2 separate regions of the Homo sapiens genome follow, and region 2 is linked to region 1. Evidence: promoter capture Hi-C in 16 types of primary human blood cells and fetal thymus (Javierre and others, 2016). All regions are on one chromosome and are shown on one strand. The core of a region is centred on a gene start or on the middle of the fragment in contact, and the rest is flanking DNA. Distances in the headings are between cores, read along the strand shown.

The links. The method cuts DNA at HindIII sites, captures the fragments that hold promoters and counts their contacts. A CHiCAGO score of 5 or more calls a contact.
Region 2: a fragment that was not itself captured here is called in contact with the fragment with the promoter of OR13J1 in region 1 in 1 of 17 cell types (neutrophils); the score reaches 5.6 in neutrophils.

Annotation. Positions count from the first base shown.
Region 1 is chr9:35,867,349-35,872,633 of GRCh38, forward strand. OR13J1 (olfactory receptor family 13 subfamily J member 1) reads right to left here and starts at 3,053. Exons shown (of 1, transcript NM_001004487.1): 1 at 2,115-3,053. The coding sequence starts at 3,053. The coding sequence ends at 2,115. The HindIII fragment of the contact is 7,651 bases long and covers 1,760-5,285 here.
Region 2 is chr9:35,776,958-35,782,242 of GRCh38, forward strand. It overlaps a transcript of RGP1 not described here. Among named protein-coding and RNA genes, the nearest start is that of NPR2, 12 kb to the right of the region's middle. The HindIII fragment of the contact is 8,666 bases long and covers 1-5,285 here.

The sequences.
Region 1 (5,285 bases), core at 1,803-4,302:
TAGGAAGTTCATATTAAATTATCCCCATTTCCACCAGCAGTGTATGACACTGCCTACTTCACCACATGGTACCTAACAGTGGACATTGTGTTAAACAAGAGAGAGAATGGTATCTAATCAGTGACCTTGCTAAAAGTCAATCTGATTGTAAACCCCCAGAGCCCACAGAATAAAACCCAAACCTCTGTGATGTATCCATGGCCCAGCAGAATGGCATGGCCACTGGCATGGCTACTGGCAGCCTTCTCTCAGGCGTGGTCAGAGAGGCTTGGGTATCTCTCACTCCTCTAGCCATGCTTCTCTGTGCCTCTGTTCTGGCCAGCAGAGGAAGCAGGGAGAAAGCCCTGGGAGGGGAATTCAGGCCTCATGCAGGGGCTGTGCTTACCTGTAGCCGGGGGCAGGAAAGGTGGACTGCTGCTTGCAGGGCAAGCCCAGTGCTCCCATCGTACAGATGGTACCATGGAGGCCAGGGCAAGGCAGGGAATGGAAATGCTCCGTGAATCTAGGTCAGTGTCCACTGCCTGTGCACTGAGTTATCAGAAAGAAAAGCTGGAAGAGGCTGAGCACCAGGCAGGGGCAACTATGGCAGGGTCCCAGGGCATGAGGTGAGGATGGGTAAAACAAGCTTCCTCAAGCCAGGTGAGGCCTGGATCCCAAGAAAGGGAGCACTGGAAGCTGCTGCTGCTGCTGTTGCTGCTGGGCGGGGTGAGGTGGGAGGAATGGGGTGGCTTCAGGCTTTGGGCTGGATGATTGGTGTCCCAGGGCCTGACAGGTCTGGGAATCTTGGACTTTGGGCCTTGTGATGGTTAATACTGAGTGTCAACTTCTTTGGATCGTGGGATACAAAGTATGAATCCTGGGTGTGTTCTGTGTGGGTGTTGCCAAAAGAGATTCACATTTGAGTCAGTGGGCTGGGGAAGGCAGATCCACCCTAATCTGGTGGGCATGATCTAATCAGTTTCCAGTGAATATAAAGCAGGCAGAAAAACGTGAAAAGGAGAGACGGGCCTAGCCTCCGAGCCTACATCTTTCTCCCATGCTGGATGTTTCCGTCCCTTGAACAATGGACTCCAAGTTCTTCAGTCTGGGGACTCGGACTGGTTCTCCTTGCTCCTCAGCCTATTGTGGAACCTTGTGATCGTGTAAGTTAATACTTAATAAACTCCTCTATCCTATTAGTTCTGTCCCTCTAAGAGAACCCTGACTAATACAGGCCTCATTGCTGCCTCTACTGTCACCTACCAGGGAAGCTGGGCCATTCTCGTCATCTGTGGACTCCGTCTCAGCTCTGCTCAGTTTTGGGAAGAACTCTAGGCTCTGCCATTGTCACCCCTACATTGACATGTTAATATCTCTATTTAAGAAACTTGTGCAGGGCCTAGAGTTGGGCAAGGCTGGACCTTGGGAGAGAGTAGAATCTGACACTCCCTGCTCTTGGAGTAATGCTGAAAACACAGAGGGGCACAGCAAGAGGAGCAAGGTGGGGTGGCTTCCTGGTGGAGGTGGCATTTGAGCTGGGCCTGAAGGGTCAGGCAGTCAGTCCTTTTACATATGGAGAAGTGTGCTGGGGATAGGGGAGGGGGTGCTGCCTCGTGGGGAGAAACAAGGAGAGCACAGAGCTGGGTGGTGCAGGGCATGTGGGGGCCACAACTGGCTGGTGTGTGTGGCTGTGAGGAGGGAGATGGGGTGGGAGGGGAGGAAGGCTGGGGAGCCAGTCAGGCAGGGCCAGCTTGTGAGGGCCTCAAATGCCCCACTGAAAAGCTTCCACTTTGTTCTGAGAACAGTGGGGAGCCACCTAGGGATTTCAGTGAGAAGAGTGATGCAATCACATGTGCATTTCAAAAAGATGCCCCATGAAGGAGAGATTGGAGGGAGGAACAGGACTGAAGTCTTGGGACCAGCCAGGAGGCTGGTGTGAAGGCCAGGGTGATGCTGAGAGCAGAGGGTGATTTGGGGGCTGTTCTGTGGCAGGATCAGCGGGACTTGGTGCTGCCTTGCTGGGATGAAGATACCAGACCTGTAGCCCCAGCCCTGCCATGTCTTCACTGGCATTGGCATACGATGGCCTCAGCTACTAACCTGAGACCTGCGTCTGTACAGAGCCCCGCCCTCCCTCACCTGGAGGCCCGACTCCTGCCCCACACCTTCCTGGCGGCCTCCTTCACCTCCTTGTTCCTCAGGCTGTAGATGGTGGGGTTCAGCATGGTCGTGACCATGGCATAGAGGACTGTGAAGACCTCATCAGAGATGTGGGCTTCCTTACTCTTGGGCTTCAAGTACATGAAGATGATGGTGCCGTAGAAAAGCAGCACTACAGCCAGGTGTGCCAAGCAGGTGGAGAAGGCTTTGCAGCACCTGGCGGCCGAGGGCACCCTCAGGATGGTGGCCAGGATGAGCAAGTAGGACAGGCAGATGAATGCCAGGGGTACAGGCAGCAGCAGGATGGAGCCCGCCAGCAGGAAGTCTTCGCTGACCGACGTGTTGCCGCATGCCAGCTTCAGCACTGCCAGGATCTTGCAGGTGAAGTGACTGACCACGTGGTGGCCACAGAAGGGCAGCCTCATGGAGATGACCATCTCAGTCACCGACTTGAGGAGGCAGAGGACCCAGGCAGCTCCCATCAGCAGCACGCAGAGCCGGTGGCTCATGAGCACGTGGTACCTGAGTGGCTGGCAGATGGCCAGGTAGCGGTCATAGGCCGTGATGGCCAGTAGCAGGCACTCCGTGGAGCCCGTGGACAGGCTCAGACACATCTGGATGGCACAGACAGCAAAGGAGATGGTCTTCCGGGATGACAGGAGGTGGACCAGCATCAGAGGCACAAAGGTGGGCGTGTAGCAGATGTCCAGGGTAGAGAGGTTGCCCAGGAAGAAGTACACGGGCGTGTGCAGGTGGATATCTAGCACGCTCACCGCCATGATGGCTGTGTTCCCCAGGAGGGTCACCAGGTACATGGCTGAGCACAGAGGGAAGAGCAGATGCTCCAGGGCTGGGTAGCCAGAAAATCCTTTCAGAAAGAACTCGGACACCTCTGTTCTGTTGAGCGGCTCCATGCTGCAGAGTTCTGAAGAGATGGTCCACAGCTGGGATGGAAGGAGAGAGGGTACAGGGTGCGGGGAAGCTCACAGAGCCCTTTCTGGGACGAGGTGGACTGTCAGGATCTTTTCCAGCACTGCCACACTCACTGTCTGTGACGTCGGGCAATCCCTTTATCCTCTCTAGGCCTCAGTTTATCCATGTGAAAAATGAGCATTGATTTAGATCAGCATTCCCTGAGAGAATGTTAATGAGAACATTAGTAAGCAATCTGAAAAATCAATTTGAGACAACATTGGATTAATAAAAAATAAAGCTCTTTACTGCAGGACTTCTCAGAGCGTTTACTACGCTAATGTGATCTATGACTCCTGCAAAGCAATGTAGAACATCTGTACCCCAAACTTATTTGATCATGGATCCCCTTTTACAGAAAACCCATTAACCTACTGCAGATAAGTGTTCTATGAGCATAGTCTGGGAAACAGTAGGCTAGATCAACAGTTCTCAAACTTTAACATGCACCAGAATCACCTGGAAAGTTTGTTAAAACAGATTGTTGGGCCCCAAACCCAGTTTCTGACTCGGTGCGTCTGGGCGATGCTTCTGCTGCTGATGTAGGTACCACACTTTGAGGAACTAGTGGGCTAGGTGGTCTCTGAGCAGGTGGAGATTCTCCTGGCTTTAAGGAAGCCTCTGAGCCATCGCATTTGCTATTCCTTCTGTCTGGAATGTCCTCGGCCTGCAGTGGTCTGACCTGTCTCTTCAGGCCTACTCTAGTATCCATGAACAAAGCATACACCGTGCTGTGTGTTGGAGGGCTGCTGACCTTGAAGCCTATCGCTGGGCATGTTCCCCTGTCCCCTGCCCAGGGCCTGTTTCATTAGCTACCCTGTGTGGATTGGACCTTCACAATCTGCCTTCCTGTGGGTTTCCCAGCTAAAATCTGATGGAGCTTTTGGCCCAGCTCCAAACCCCTATGTTCTGTGGGCCAGAGCGAGGGCTGCTTTGACTTCATGAACTCCTAGGGTATTAGCATGGAACATGACCAGAGGCCAACTTGTTGGATCTCCCATTGTATAGATGGGGATGCTGAGGTCACACAACAGGTCTCTGGTGAGGTGAAGCTAGAATCCAGCCCTCCCAACAGTGTGACCCCTATACCATGCTCAGAGCAGGTGTATGCTTCTATTAGGTTTCAAACAATGCTTGTTCTTTTACCATTCTAGATGGATATCAGTGCCCCAGGTGCTGCCACAATCCTCTCACCAGCAAAAGAGCATGAGTCACCTCTCCTTAGTGTTCCAGGGTATCTGGCACGGTGTCATTAATCCCATGGGACACGATGCCAAATCCTGGGCCTGGGTGGAGCACAGTTCCTCTCAGTGCCTTCCTTGCAGGAGACCATTTCCGTCTTTTATTCCACCCTCACTTACTCATCCCAGAACCTAGAAGTAACTGAGGACCTGCTACATGTCAGGTGGTGCCAGATGTGAGGGAGCACTGATGACAGGTGTGCTCCCAGGCTGCTGAGTGCAAACCCTTCCTAGGCAGAGAGGACCCCCAAGTCTTCCATACCCAGCCTCACCGTCCCCCCACTCTTCCGTACCCAGCCTCACCCACCCCTCCCACTCTCCCATACCCATCCTTGTCCTCCCCCACCCTCCCATACCCAGCCTCCCCCTCCCCTGACTCTTCCATACCCAGCCTCACCCACCCTTCCCACTCTCCCATACCCAGACTCACCCTCCCCCCACTCTCCCATACCCAGCCTCACCCACCCTTCCCACTCTCCCATACCCAGCCTCACCCTTCCCTCACTCTTCCATACCCAGCCTCACCCACCCTTCCCACTCTCCCACTTTTCCAAAAGTAACTATTGTTATTAGTTTTGTGTATATCTATCCAGATACTTTTCTGGCCATTTGCATATGTATATCTATACATGGAAATAGGTCTTGTGACTTTTTAGTATGCTTTTTTGTTGCAGCTTTATTGAAGGATGGTTGATGTACAACTATATTTAAATCATATAATTTGATTAGTTTTAATGTATACAGTCATGAAACCATGACCACAATCAAGATAATGAACTTATCTAATATACCCACAATTTTTCTCATGCCCCTTGGTAATCCATTCCTTTCTTCCCCAACCAGGCAGCCACTGATTTGCTCTCTGTAACTGTAGATTACTTTCATTTTCTAGCATTTTACATAAAGGGAATTATGCAGAATGTACTCTTTTTA
Region 2 (5,285 bases), core at 1,731-4,230, 90 kb before region 1:
GCACTCCAGCCTGGGTGACAGAGTGAGACTCTGTCTCAAAAAAAAAAAAAAAATTTGCTTTGTGGAAAATCAAAATAATTGAATTTATTCTTGGGCCAGATATACCCCAACCAATCTTAGCTTTGTTTTTATGACATTATACATGAAGTTATCTAAATCAGGTGTTTTTCTTTTTTTTTTTTTTTTTTTTGAGACAGAGTCTTGCTCTGTCACCCAGGCTGGAGTGCGGTGGCATGATCTTGGCTCACTGCAAGCTCCGCCTCCCAGGTTCACACCTTTCTCCTGCCTCAGCCTCCCCAGTAGCTGGGACTACAGGTGCCCACCACCATGCCTGGCTAATTTTTTGTATTTTTAGTAGAGATGGGGTTTCACTATGTTAGCCAGGATGGTCTCGATCTCCTGACCTCGTGATCCACCCTCCTCAGCCTCCCAAAGTGCTGGGATTACAGGCGTGAGCCACTGTGCCAGGCCTAAATCATGTTTTGTGGTTTTTTTTTTTTTTGTACTTGTTTCTTTCATTTATTTATTTTTATATATATAGAGAGAGAGATAGGGTCTTGCTATGTTGACCAGGCTGGTTTCAAACTTTGGCCTCAAATGATCCTTCCATCTTGGCCTCCCAAAGTGCTAGGATTACAGGTGTGAGCCAACGCGCCCAGCCTGGTACTTGTTTCTTGTAAGATGTTCTAGTTCTAACTCTTCTTCTTCAGACCTACTGATCTTGGATTATACTTTTTGTAATACTTTATCTTTTGGTTCCAAATGACTGGTTTTCAGAAAAGCCTTCTTAGCTCTGATGTTACCGTTCTGCCCTTTGATGTTTTTAATCTCCTTGCTACAGCTATGAGGGATTCACCATGTGTGTTTATCTATTAAAAGAAATCCCATCTTTCCCTTTGAGGTCCCATTGCCATCCTTTAAAACATTCAAGATATCAAGCACCCCATATCAATGACATATTTTTATGCTTTCTTGTTTATGATTAAGATTCATTTTTAATTAAAAATTTTGAATAGGTCATACTTGCACACCTGTTACAAAATTAAAGCTATACAAAATGGGCCAGGCGCGGTGGCTCATGCCTGTAATCCCAGCGCTTTGGGAAGCCGAGGTGGGCAGATCACCTGAGGTCGGGAGTTTGAGACCAGCCTGATCAACATGGAGAAACCCCGTCTCTACTAAAAATACAAAAAAATTGGCCGGGCGTGGTGGCGCATGCCTGTAATCCCAGCTACTCGGGAGGCTGAGGCAGGAGAATCACTTGAACCCGGGAGACAGAGGTTGCAGTGAGCCAAGATCATGCCATTGTTCTACAGCCTGGGCAACAAGAGCGAAATTCTGTGTCAAAAAAAGGTATACAAAATGATAGATAATGAAAAAACTGTCTCTTTCATCTTGCCCTTTAGATACCTTGTTCCCCTTCAGGGAGGTATTCGCTGTTAACAGTTTCCAGTCCAAAAGCTACGTTTTAAAGCATAATTAAATTTCTGGCCCCTTCTCTAAAGTCCCTCAATTATTAATCATATTAACTCTGTAGAAGGATGTATCACAACATTATACTGAAAAATAAGCTGAATATACAAAAGTGTTCAAGCAGTCAGAATACTTTGGAATATAATATGACATGTCAAACTGGTGTCTGACATGGATGGCTTCTGGGTGGATGCAAGTCCCTAAATGTCCAGCCTTCCTTTTGTGCATTGGCTTTGCCTGCCTACATACCCACTCCCTCCTCTCGAATGCACAAATAATGCACATTCGCCTTCCTGTTTGCTTTCTCTTAAGCCCAAGGCTTGTTAATCTGGGATCCTTTAGCTCCTAGATCCACGTGCACCTGAAATGATATGTAAAATGTTGTGGAATAATATGTATATGTGCTTTTTATATTTTAATGGGGAAAAGAGAGTATACATGGCTTTCATCTGATGTTCTATCTCCAGTCTATCTCTGTCTTCTTTATTCTGCCTGAACTTTCAAACTCCTGGTTCCTTCTGTCACTCAAAAGATGACTTTGCTTCCCCATTGAGGAATGCAGTTGAGCTCCTTATTTCATATAACCTTCCCTTCATTTCAATATATTATAGAGGATGTTGAGTAAGGTTTTTTTCTATTGCCCTGGAATTGGTGACTAGGGTCCAAAGCTGGGACAAAGAGGACTAAATACTGCACGTTCTAGAGAGAGTTGCTAATAATTGGATCAGAGCTCCTCTCCAGGGCTTACAAAGAGGTAGCAGAAGTGGCCCTGCAACTTCCAGCCAACCCATACCTTACCACCCCACCTCCATTCCCAGGCTATATAAGATAAAAGATGACTGAAGGGAGGCTGTCATGAGCCTAGCAGGGAGTACTTTTCCCTCCTTTCCCCCCTTAAAGTAAGCAAGGGAGTATGAAAGAGATCTACATGAAAGAGAGATTGATTTCTCATTCCTTGGTTAAACTATCTGTTTAGACAGTGGATTTGTTCAGCTCCGCACCTGTCTGAGAAGAGGAAAGGCAATTAGAGAAAGGAGGAAGGGCAGAGTAAGGGGATAGTAGTGGAATAGTCTGCATTCATTCTGTTTGGCTTAGCAAGGGTATGTGAGTTTCTGTGATCAAAGGGACACTGAGGAAGATCGCCGGGCTTGAGCCATCATGCTGGTAACCCATCCAAAAGGCTGCCACTGAACAGAAGTTAGGAGGGTTAAAGAGATGGCTTGGATCAGGATTCTCTGCATTAGGGCACAACTCAGTGGAGAAGCCCAGTAGGACCTTCTAAAGAACTCACATAACTGTCTCATAAGAGAGCCAGCATCTTTTTTTTTAAGATGGGGTCTGTTGCCTAGGCTGGGGTATAGTGTTGTGATCATGGCTTATTGCAGCCTGAATCTCTTGGGCACAAGTGATCCTCCTGCCTCAGCCTTCTGAGTATCTGGGACTGCAGGTTATGTGCCACCACACTCGGCTAATTAAAAAAAAATTTTCTTAGAGACAGGGTCTCTCTACGTTGCCCAGGCTGGTCTCAAACTCCTGGGCTCAAGTGATCCTCCTGCCTCAGCCTTCCAATGCCTTGGGCTTACAGGCATGAGCCACCATGTGCAAGAAAGATAGCATTTTGACATCTGCCAAACAACAGGTTGGCATGGTCTGTCAGCAAACAGTGGTTTGTGATAACTACCTTGTTAAATAAAAAGAGAGTTGTTCTTTTCCTCCCTGCCCTCCTCCTAGTTCTCAACCACCAAGGAGCTAAAACCCTTCTAGAGAACCTTCCAGAGAACTAGAAGAGGAGAAGCAGAATCAATAGAAGGGATCATATTCTTCTCTCCACCGCAGGTTCCTTAAGCCATGGCTTAAGATGAGTTCTGCATTGGACCTGAGACTGGAGTTTTAAGCCATATCGGACTGAGTCTTTAAATAACCAAAAGGGAGCAGAGTGTTATGGACTCTGACCATGATGTTGTGAAGAGGTACAAAGGAGACATTTGTCATGGCACAGATGAAGACTGATGGGTGGCAGGTTATGTTTATACCTGACCAAGCTCAATGCTCAACAGATAAGTTAAATTTATCCGTCACGAAATCTATCCCTGAATCCATTGTTCCACCTTTCCCTGCAGTCTCAGAGGAATTTCTTTTTCTTTTAAAGTGAATCCCTGGCTGGGCACGGTGGCTCACACCTGTGATCCCAGCACTTTGGGAGGATGAGGAGGGTGGATCACTTGAGCTCAGCAGTTTGAGATCAGCCTGGGCAACATGGTGAAACTCCATCTCTACCAAAAATACAAAACAAACAAACAAACAAACAAAAAACAACCAGGCGTGGTGGTGTGCATCTGTGGTCCCAGCTATTTGGGAGGCTGAAGTGGGAGGATTGATTGAGTCTCGGGGGATGGAGGTTGCAGTGAGCCAAGATGGCGCCACTGCACTCCAGCCTGGGTAACAGAGTGAGACTCTGTCTCAAAATATGACCAAATAAATAAAAATAAAGTGAATCCCTTCATCCATACTCATATATCCATTGAGAAAACATTTATTTGAATTCTAAAATATACTGCCAATGTAAGGTACAAAGATTAAGGACGATAAAATTCCTTCTCATGGAATACACAATCTAATGGGGCAGAAAGTACCTACTTTAAAACAAATGTATTAAATTAAATTGAAAAGTGGCCTGAGTAAGCCTCAAAAAAGACTAATTAGAACTCAAGGGAAGAGAAAACATTTCAGGCTGACAGAAAACCCATGGGCATAGAATAACATGACCCACTTAGAGGACTATAGATAGCTCTATATGTTTAGAAGGCATATGTGGCTGCAGAGGAGGCTGGAGAGGAAGATGGAGCCAGGACCACCTGGTGGACTGAGATTCTTGTTCTCCATCCTGCAGGCTAGTGGCTCTGAACAGCAGTAGTACTTTTCCTGGAGGGGCATTTTGGTCCGTGGTGGGTGCGCAGGAGATAGTGGGGGTGGGGGGAGGGGGTGGGGGGGCAGGCAGGAGGGGGTGGAGGGGAAGGGGCATTTTCTTGGTTGCTATAGTGATGAGAGTGGGTGCTACTGGCATTGTAGTAGTTGGAGGCCGCAGATGTTAGACTCTGCAATGTGAGGACAGTTCCACATAATTAAGAATGTATTCCATGAGAGAAGGAATTTCACCTTGTTTTGGTTGTTAATCCTTGTACCTTGACACTGGCAATACCTTTTAGGTGTCAAATAAATGTCCTGAATTCGGCATGATTTAGATATCCTGAGTTCTGCACAGTCTTCAAATATTCCACCAAACAGTTGTGTAGGGTGTTATATATAAATATATATATAAATACATCTGTTCTGTTATTGCTTATCCTAACACTGGTGTTTAATCCAGTATCTTTCTTTATGGAGTGGCTTCAGATCTCTTAAATCAAAATTTATTCATTCCCTGTAATTAGATGGAAGCATCTAATTACAATTAGCTGAGTGCCTCCTTTGGTGTTCTATCACAGTTATATCCAACCATTTACATATTGAAATACCTGTTTTTAAAATAAGTTATTGTCTTTTATTTCTCTCGTTTTTTTTTTTTTTTTTTTTTGAGATAGAGTCTCACTCTGTTGCCCAGGCTGGAGTGCAGTGGTGTGATCTCGGCTCACTGCAACCTCCCCCTCCCGGGTTCCAGGGATTCTTGTGCCTCAGCCTCCAGAGTAGCTGAGATTACAGGCGCCTGCCACTATGCCCGGCTATTATTTCTCTTCTATATTACAGGTAGGAAATTTTATTGATGTTTTGAAATTATGTGTAGAGATAGGTTGTATTATCTATGCATTTTATTT